Linked DNA regions of Homo sapiens: all the other regions are linked to region 3. The links are contacts of gene promoters, found by promoter capture Hi-C in blood cells and fetal thymus (Javierre and others, 2016). All regions are on one chromosome and are shown on one strand. Each heading gives the region's core, a stretch centred on a gene start or on the middle of the fragment in contact. The rest is flanking DNA. Distances are from core to core; before and after follow the strand shown.

The links. Contacts are between HindIII fragments. The CHiCAGO score rates a contact against its expected background, and 5 or more counts as called.
Region 1: the fragment with the promoter of INO80D here is called in contact with the fragment with the promoter of TYW5 in region 3 in 5 of 17 cell types (naive CD8 T cells, total CD4 T cells, total B cells and 2 more); the score reaches 10.9 in naive CD8 T cells.
Region 2: a contact is called between a fragment that was not itself captured here and the fragment with the promoter of TYW5 in region 3, in 1 of 17 cell types (non-activated CD4 T cells). The highest score is 5.4, in non-activated CD4 T cells.

Annotation. Positions count from the first base shown.
Region 1 is chr2:206,084,754-206,087,453 of GRCh38, reverse strand. INO80D (INO80 complex subunit D) reads left to right here and starts at 1,280. Exons shown (of 11, transcript NM_017759.5): 1 at 1,280-1,553. It overlaps INO80D-AS1 (INO80D antisense RNA 1), which reads right to left. Exons shown (of 2, transcript NR_186084.1): 2 at 1-1,497. RefSeq lists enhancers at 1,024-1,133, 1,144-1,193, 698-1,517, 1,244-1,533 and silencers at 1,584-1,793, 1,874-2,043, 2,064-2,263, 2,304-2,353, 2,255-2,549. The HindIII fragment of the contact is 4,007 bases long and covers 188-2,700 here.
Region 2 is chr2:206,765,577-206,768,276 of GRCh38, reverse strand. FASTKD2 (FAST kinase domains 2) reads right to left here and starts at 2,671. Exons shown (of 12, transcript NM_001136193.2): 1 at 2,530-2,671; 2 at 807-1,633. The coding sequence starts at 1,583. RefSeq lists an enhancer at 2,401-2,700. The HindIII fragment of the contact is 1,030 bases long and covers 863-1,892 here.
Region 3 is chr2:199,954,241-199,957,014 of GRCh38, reverse strand. It overlaps TYW5 (tRNA-yW synthesizing protein 5), which reads left to right and starts at 1,524. Exons shown (of 8, transcript NM_001039693.3): 1 at 1,524-1,622. The coding sequence starts at 1,545. It overlaps MAIP1 (matrix AAA peptidase interacting protein 1), which reads right to left and starts at 1,433. Exons shown (of 5, transcript NM_001394955.1): 1 at 767-1,433. The coding sequence starts at 1,216. RefSeq lists enhancers at 1,001-1,100, 1,121-1,280, 1,451-1,570, 681-1,880. The HindIII fragment of the contact is 7,808 bases long and covers 609-2,774 here.

The DNA.
Region 1 (2,700 bases), core at 31-2,530, 6.1 Mb before region 3:
GAACATACAAAGATAGTCGGTTCTTTTTCTATTATTTTTCTCTTTCTTCACAAAAATAGAAAAATGTCTCTGCAATTTATCCTCCAATAAGCGTTCTATTGGAATCGATGTAAATGGGTACCCTTTGTCCCTCTCACCTCTGTGCTAACAGCATTGTTTAACTCTGATCCCATTTATCTAGTAAGCTTTGCTCATTTAAAAAAGTAAATTCATGACATCCACTGCAATATACAAAAAGTCTATCATACAGGCTGGCAGCACATTGGAAGTTCTGAACTAACATAACTAACAAAAATAGCCACATTTCTCAATTCTGTGACACAAAAAGCAGATAGCAACATGTGTAATGCACCAAAGATCTAGCTAGAGTTTAAAGAATCTAAATAAATAAAAAAATTAAATGCCCGGATATAATTCTTAATAAGCTATTTTACCTCAAGAAAAATCTAAGGCTGTCTTTAAAATCTCTTTCCAGTTTTACTGTATCCTTTCTGTATGGGCAGCATAACAGAATTTCCAGAAACAGGGGCCGTTTTTAAATCCCCAGTGATAGCTGCCTTTATCTGCACTGTGGAAAATGACACACTGTATCATGCCTTTCTGGACAGTCCATAGGTTTTATTTACATTGCTTTGAGAAACAGACGAAAGACATGTTTTTTTACAATTGTCTTACAGCAATCTGTTCTGAGAGTAACATGTAACACAAATTTTTATATGCAATATATGAAAACATAAATATTTATATATACAATAACATAACCAGACAAATAAATGAAGTTACTATTAAGTCTCTTTAAGTATAAATTTACAAACTGACCACCAGCCACAGAACTTAGCCCTGTAATGGAGAAAAATTATTACTGGCTTAAAAAAATATTAAAATATCACTGTCACTAACATGAAAAAAATTAAAAACAGAAAATAAAAAACAATAACCACCGGAAAACCTGTGTCTTGTAAAGATTTCTTTCCATCAGAAGATGCAGAAACATTTTTCCCCCTGGAGCAAATGAAAACGTTTCTCATGCACCCCCCGTTTCTTCCCTGCTTTCTCCCCCAGGCGCGGGTGTAGACGGCCGGTGTGGACTTTTTTCCAGAGATGAGAAGTAAAAATTTGTACTTTATCGGGAGCGGGTGCACTTTTCCCCCTGGCCCCCCTTTGCTCTGCCTCCAAGATGGTAGGAAAGTTGTCGTTTCGGAGGGCAGAGGAGCAGCTCTCTGGTGTTATGTCCTCGCAGTGCCTGTAGTGGTGCTGTAGGAGGCTGCTGCCTCTTCTTGTACAGCCCCGGCAGCCCTGCCTTCTTGGCTGGAGAGTATATTCAGGGATTTCCCCTTAATAATCACCGACCCTGGGAGCACTTTTTAGTTTCCAAAATAAAAATATGATCCTCACCCCTCTTGCTTGACAGGGAAAGGCTCTCGCCGGAGCCCAGGGGGGAGCAGTAGCAGCGGCAGCCGAGCTTCCTAGTCCATTGCCAGCGCCTCTCACTCTGATCTGTCAGCCCAGCCGAGGGAACAGGGGGGAAGGAGAAAAAAAAAAGCAGCTGAAAGGTAAGCAGAGGCGGCCCCAGGCCCGGCCCACATCCCCGGGCTCCCGTAGGGCGGCGGGCTGGGCCGCGCAGGCTGGGCGGGCGGCGAGCGCGCTTACGTGAGGCCGGGGATTCGCCGGCCCACGCCAGGCCCCGGGCGGAGAATGAAAGGGTGAGTGGGGCCGGCGCCCGGGTGGTGGAGGCCGGGGGCCTGAGGGCCTCCGGGGCGCCCGCGGGCGGCGACGGCGGGCGGGCAGGGGTCCAGCCGGAGCCGGAGTGGGGCGAGCGGAGCGGCCTGCGCGGGCCAGGTGGGGGTGTGCGGCGGGAGGGGGGGGCGCCGGTAGGCCTCGGGCCGGTAGGCCCCACGGCAGCCGCGCCCTGCCCCCGCACCCCGGGCCTCCGCGCGCCCCCTCGAGTCCCCCGGGGTCTCCGGGTGGGACGGCGGCGCTGCTGGGCCGAATCCCGCGCCGGCCCGGAGGCTTTCCCGCGGGGCGGCAGGCCCGGGCTGCCGGGACAGGGGCGTCAGGGCCTAGGAGTGGGGAGTGGGGAATGGGCGCCCGGCTCCCCTTCCCCCGGGTCTCTCGCAGACGGCCCCCAGATTCCGGTAAGAGTTGAATTTATTTATCCCCCTCCTCCGCGCTCCGGACGGCCAGGCCGGGGCGGGGCGGGGCGGGCGGCCTGGCGGGCGTGGGGTCGGGTGGAGGGGCGGTGAGGAGTCAGGTGCAGCCGCGGCCCAGAAAGTTTCCTTTTAGGCCCGAACTGGGGGCCGCTGTCTCTCCGGGGAGCCCTGGTCCTAGCGCCCGGGACCCCCCAGGGCGTGGGGGAGCGCACTCGGCTATTTTGAAACTCTTTGCCAGTTCCTGTCCATTGAAGAAGGTACTCCGCCCCTGCACCCCTCGCCCGCGCCCCACCCAACTCCCCGCGAGCCCATTCGGGGCTGCTAACTCCAGCCCCTTCCCCCTAGAGCCCCCCAGGTTGGGGAGAGGGCCTTCTCTTCCGGTTTGGAAAAGTTTGCAAGGGGCTTTTCTTAGCTTTATTAGTTAGTGACTGGGTTTTTGGGGTGGGAAGGAGGAGGTAAACTCAGGTGGTGTTTCTGCCGGACAATCTTTCCCTATTGCCTTTTTTAGCCCTTACCCCACCAACTGGGGGTGTTATTTTCAGCTTGAGTA
Region 2 (2,700 bases), core at 128-2,627, 6.8 Mb before region 3:
GACTAAAAATGGCTCCCTCCATCCAATTTTAACCTTCTTCCAATACATCTTCCACTCATTCAGTGATCTAAAATACAAATTTGAGCACGTCAACCCATTGCTTAAAATTCTTCAACGGATTCCCATTGCCTACAGGATAAATGCATACTCCTTAGCTAGCCGTAAGAGGCTCTTTATGATTTGGTTCCTATTTTTCTGGCCTCTTGTTCTGCCCCTAAGCCTCTTGCCCCTCACTCCTCTCCTTTGATCGCCATGTACAAAACTTGTTCCCACCCACTCAAACATACAACTCCATCATTCTGTGCTTCAGCTACACCAAACTACTTTCAGCTCTTCAAATTTGCCAAACTTTTCCTCTGGGAACAGTAGGGCATGCAATCCTCTCTACTTGAAACACCATCCCCTTCACTATCATTCTGCTCATCAGTTTAGGTATCATCTACTGGGCCTGAATTCCAATTCTACCATGGACTAAATTCTCTTCCTTCCCCTTCCCTTCTCTCCTTCTTCAACTACCCAGGCTTTCTTTGTATATCTTGCATCTCTCCTCACTTTAGCTTCTTCACCACTACTCAACCCTGGGGATGGTAAATGTGGAAGGCTTTCATAAATTTCCATAGCAAAAGGAAGAAAATAGCTAACTTAAGGCCTCTAAATCATATAATATATATGCAGAAATAAATATAAAGGAAACTACCATTCCATTTGATAGTCTCTTTTAAGAAGGCTACATATCTATATCCCTTCATTCTTTCAAAATATTCTAAATCAAGTAAATGCATGTTTAAATCTCCTTTTTATTTTACCTGGGTCACCCTCAGCAAAGTCTGCACCAAAATAGTGTTCTGAGGGATTCCAAGCTTCACTATGGCGTGAAGACTGAACAGTAGGTACTTATACTGCATGATCTTGGCTTCTCTCATCATATGTTCACAGAGCTGATTAAATGCAGGGTGGCTAAACATCAGTCGTTTTTCAAAGCGCTTCTGGTCATCAGACAGTCTTTTGGCAATTGTCCACATTGCTGTGAAATAGTTGCTACTAGGAAATGTGGGCGCTTTTGAAAATGCATCTAACACATCACTCAGGGAATTACATTCCTCAGACAGTTTTCTACTGCTGATACGGTTTGGTTTTGTTTCCTTGGTAAGAACATCTTCATTGGAGACTTCATGATTAAGGTTTACTTTCTTCAATTCATCATCAGATTTATCAACAGGGACAAGAGACTGCTTTGAGTCAAAAAACAGTCTTTTAGCATAAAGTAGTCTTTCAATTCTAAGGGCTGTTAGAGTGCTTATGCCCTTTGTTTGAAAGCCAACATCTGATTTAAAAATGAATGCATCCTGAAAGAGATATCTAATGATATCAGTTGATTGCATTCTGTTATGAAAGTTATTTAAAATGTTCCAGTTTGAATGAACTATTTTTGGTTTGCAAAGTCCCAAACAACATAGCCTCATAGTTCTGCTTGTTGAAACTAATGTACTGAATTGTCTAAGGTTCCAGAAAAAGGAGCCCGCTTTGTTATTCATTTTGCTCTCCACTGAAACACTTCCAAATGGCTTCAAAGTTGTCAACATGAAACCAACGTCACTTCTACTAGTGAAAAAGAACACGTGCTGTCGTTTTCCTGTAGGGGAAGAAGTAATGAAAAGAATAAAAATTAAAACAAAACTTTTACTTAAAGAAATGAAATGCATTTAACAGAAGAGAAAATGGGGAACCTATGGAGCCATTAAACATTTACATAAAACAGTAAAAGTTTTTTTTACCAATGTGGGCTCCCTCCAATCTACCACAATGTGTCCAGTTTCAAAGAAGCCAGGTCACTTTGGAAGTAGTCATTGTATTAATGAGATTTTTCTGGTGCAAAAGCGTTCCATAAAGCTTTCTCTGTAGGAGAGACTTTTGTTGGCATTGTTATGGAAATGTCCTCGGTGAAAATTAGGGGATTAGCATTGATAGATCATTTTCTTTTCTCTTCTCTGTTTTTTTTTTTTTTTTTTTTTTTTTTGAGACAAAGTCTTGCTATGTCCCCCAGGCTAGAGTGCAGTGGCGCGATCTTGGCTCACTGCAACCTCCACCTCCCAGGTTCAAGCAATTCTCCTGTCTCAGCCTCCCAAGTAGCTGGGATTACAGGCGTATGCCACCACGCCCGGCTAATTTTTGTATTTTTTGTAAAGACGGAGTTTCACCATGTTGGCCAGGCTGGTCCTGAACTCCTGACCTCAGGTAATCCACCCGCCTCGGCCTCCCAAGGCGTGAGTCACCGCGCCCGGCTGATAGATCATTTTCAACATGACGATTTAGCAACGGCCGAACCCAGACCATCAAGAATAGGGACCTGGGCAGGTAGAACGGCTCAGTGGAAGAAGCAGAAAACGAAAGCGATGTCTGCACGTGGCCTGCGCTTAAGAGGAAGATCTTATACAACCAGCCAGCCTCACCAGACCCCAGAACCAACTTCAAGAGCCTGTCCTTCCGCAGCTGGGCCGCCCAGCATTAACCCACCTCCTTTAAACTTACTTCCAGGACAACTCGTGAGACTCTTCTCCTCGAAGTAAAAAGTCTAGGATGTGATACGGGCTGCCGCTAAGCCCAAGCTCGTCCTCCACTCACCTTAGAGCACAAGACCGTGACTACGTACAGGAGCAGCCATGACAGCTTCCCCGAGAAGCTGCGCTTCTCACGAGATCT
Region 3 (2,774 bases), core at 275-2,774:
AATCTCAGGACCCAAGTGACCATATGTCACAAGGGTAAGGCAAGGTATAATCAGCCATTCAGAAACAGGTACGTAACTAACAAAGTCAGGGATAAGAATCTCTAAAGGCTAAATATTTTCTGTGTGCAGGGTGCTGTGCACTTAGCCACCAGGCAGTCTCAGCAAATCCTTTGAAAGGGTAAAATTGCTCATCTCCAGTTTAATCTTTACGGAGTATGGGGTGGTGTATTGGTCGGCTCTGTCTAATAGCTGGCAGGAAGTTCTGCTCTTCTACCCAAGGTGACATTACAGCACTTTGGAAATGTTATCTCAATTATTCTTCAATCTTACCCATTTATTAATGTATTCAGCAAACATTCATGGAGTGCCTACTATGTGCCAGGCATTGTCTTGCCCACTTTGTAAATTTGAAAATTATGTTCAGACAAGATGAGCCATATAGCTTTTTCTTTCTGAGACAGGGCCTGGCTCTGTATCCCAGGCTGGAGTGCAATGGCACGATCACAGCTCACTACAACGTCCAACTCCTGGGTTCAAGCGATCCTCCCCTTCAGCCTCCCAAGTAGCTGAGACTACAGGCGTGTACCACCATTCCCGGCCCAGAAGCTTACTTTAAGTCAAGCAATGGCTGGAAGGCTCTATGTCTGGGCCACTAATCACGTTTGATCACTTGTATCCCAGTGAAGAAAACTCACTGCTAAGCACTTCTGCGAGCAATAGTTGAACTCATTAGAGACGGATAGGTCAATCAGGGAAATAAACAAACCTGCTTCGCTCCCTCGGAGAACTCTGTGATGCTGAACTCTTTGTCGAAATAGGCCCAGATAAGGAAGGCCTTAATTCGAGTCCTAACCCAGTTGATGGGGTTGGAGAATCCCAGGACGATCATCTTGGTTTTCTGGTGCTGCTGGGGCTTCTCCTCCGTGCTGTAGCTGCGCTGAGGGCAGGCAGGGAAAGAAGCGAAGGCTGCGGGGAGTCCCGGGCTGCTGAGCACTGGCCACCGGGAGCCCTGGGCAGGTAGCGCCGAGGCTGCCAAGGCCCTAGCGCTTCGTGGAAATAACGCCGCTCCCAAGCCGAGGCGACAGCGGCAGAAGTAGCAAAGTGTGGCCGACGGCAGCCTCACCTCGGCCACAGCAGGAGTCCGGAGTCGGACGGCCCCGCAGGGCAGCGACCGAGAGTGCAGGAACTGGGGTAGCAAACGAGCGGCCAGCGCCATTTTTATGACCCTTCACACCGGTGCCTGCCGGTGCTGTATGGAAAGGAAGTCGGTGGGAAACCGCCTCAGCGGTGTCGGAGAAAGAGACTGGAGAGCAAAGTGGACCTGTTGCTGCAGCCTCTGGTGAGTCGGCCCCGTCCCCGCTCTCCAGCACGCAGCCCAGGCCGAGGCCCTTCGGCAACCCGCCCCGCGCTCGGACCCAGCCACTCTGGAGTCTGCCGGCCTCGCGGACCTTTTCTCTGTCGCTCGTGTTTCCGGGCGGATGGCGCTGAGGAACGCTTTAGAGCCGAAGTTCCGAAGACCTGGAAGAGGGCAGGCGTGAGCAACCATGGCCGGGCAGCACCTCCCGGTACCCCGGCTGGAGGGCGTTTCTCGGGAGCAGTTCATGCAGCACCTCTACCCACAGGTGAGGCCCTCGCGCGGGGCAGAACCTCGAGAAACCAGCGAGAGACACGTCTTTACCTTTCGGACAGCTGGGAACTGGTTTTTAGAGACCCAGGGTGTGGGAAAGAGGCGCAGGACGGCAGCAGATCACTGGTTGGCCCTTAGACCAAGGGAAAGGTGCACGGGGGACGCCGACTGGCTCCTCTATTGAAATTTCCGGAGAAAGTCCCATGTTTCTGGGGAGCAAGATGATGGCGGAGAGCTGAGTGCGAGAGGTATTTTGCCTAAACTCTTTACTCCGCATCTGTCAGTCTGCTCCGAATTAATGGATTTGAAGGCACAACTTTTCACTCCACTGAGCCAAAAAGGAAAGCAATGGGATTCCCCCGGAAAACTCCTACTCGTCTTGAATTCTAACTTACTTAGGTTCTAGTTCCGACATTGGAGTCTTTTATACCTGTAGTTAGAACCTTAGGTCTTTAAAAGAAAACTCATAGAGAAATATTAGGGAAACAAAAAGTGCTTTTACTTGCAGTGCTTTTCAAGGGAGTCCAGACCTAAGAAAAACAAGGTATTAAAAGGAAAAATCCACAGGATTACAGTAAGTCAGTTTATGGTAGGAAAAATACCCAGCAATTTTCTTACCTGATATTTACATTTATAAGGGTGGTCATAGAATTACAGTTCTGGGGCCGGGCGCGGTGGCTCACGCCTGTAATCCCAGCACTTTGCGAGGCCGAGGCGGACGGATCACCGGAGGTCAGGAGTTCAAGACCAGCCAGTAGAAATCCCATCTCTACTAAAAATACAAAATTAGCCGGGCATGGTGGTGGCCCATACCTGTAATCCCAGCTACTCGGGAGGCTGAGGCAGGAGAATCGCTTGAACCCGGGAGGCGGAGGTTGCAGTGAGCCGAGATCGCGCCACTGCACTCCAGCCTGGGCAACAAGAGCTAAACTCGGTCTCAAACAAACAAACAAAACTACAATTCTGAGTGTTACAAAAGTCGGATGGGCTGGGCGCCGTGGTTCATGCCAGTAATCCTAACATTTTGGGAGGCCCAGGTCGGTGGATCACTTGAGGTCAGGAGTTCAAGACCAGCCTGGCCAATATGGTGAATCCCCGTCTGTACAAAAAATACAAAAATTAGCCGGGCGTGGTGGCGCACGCCTGT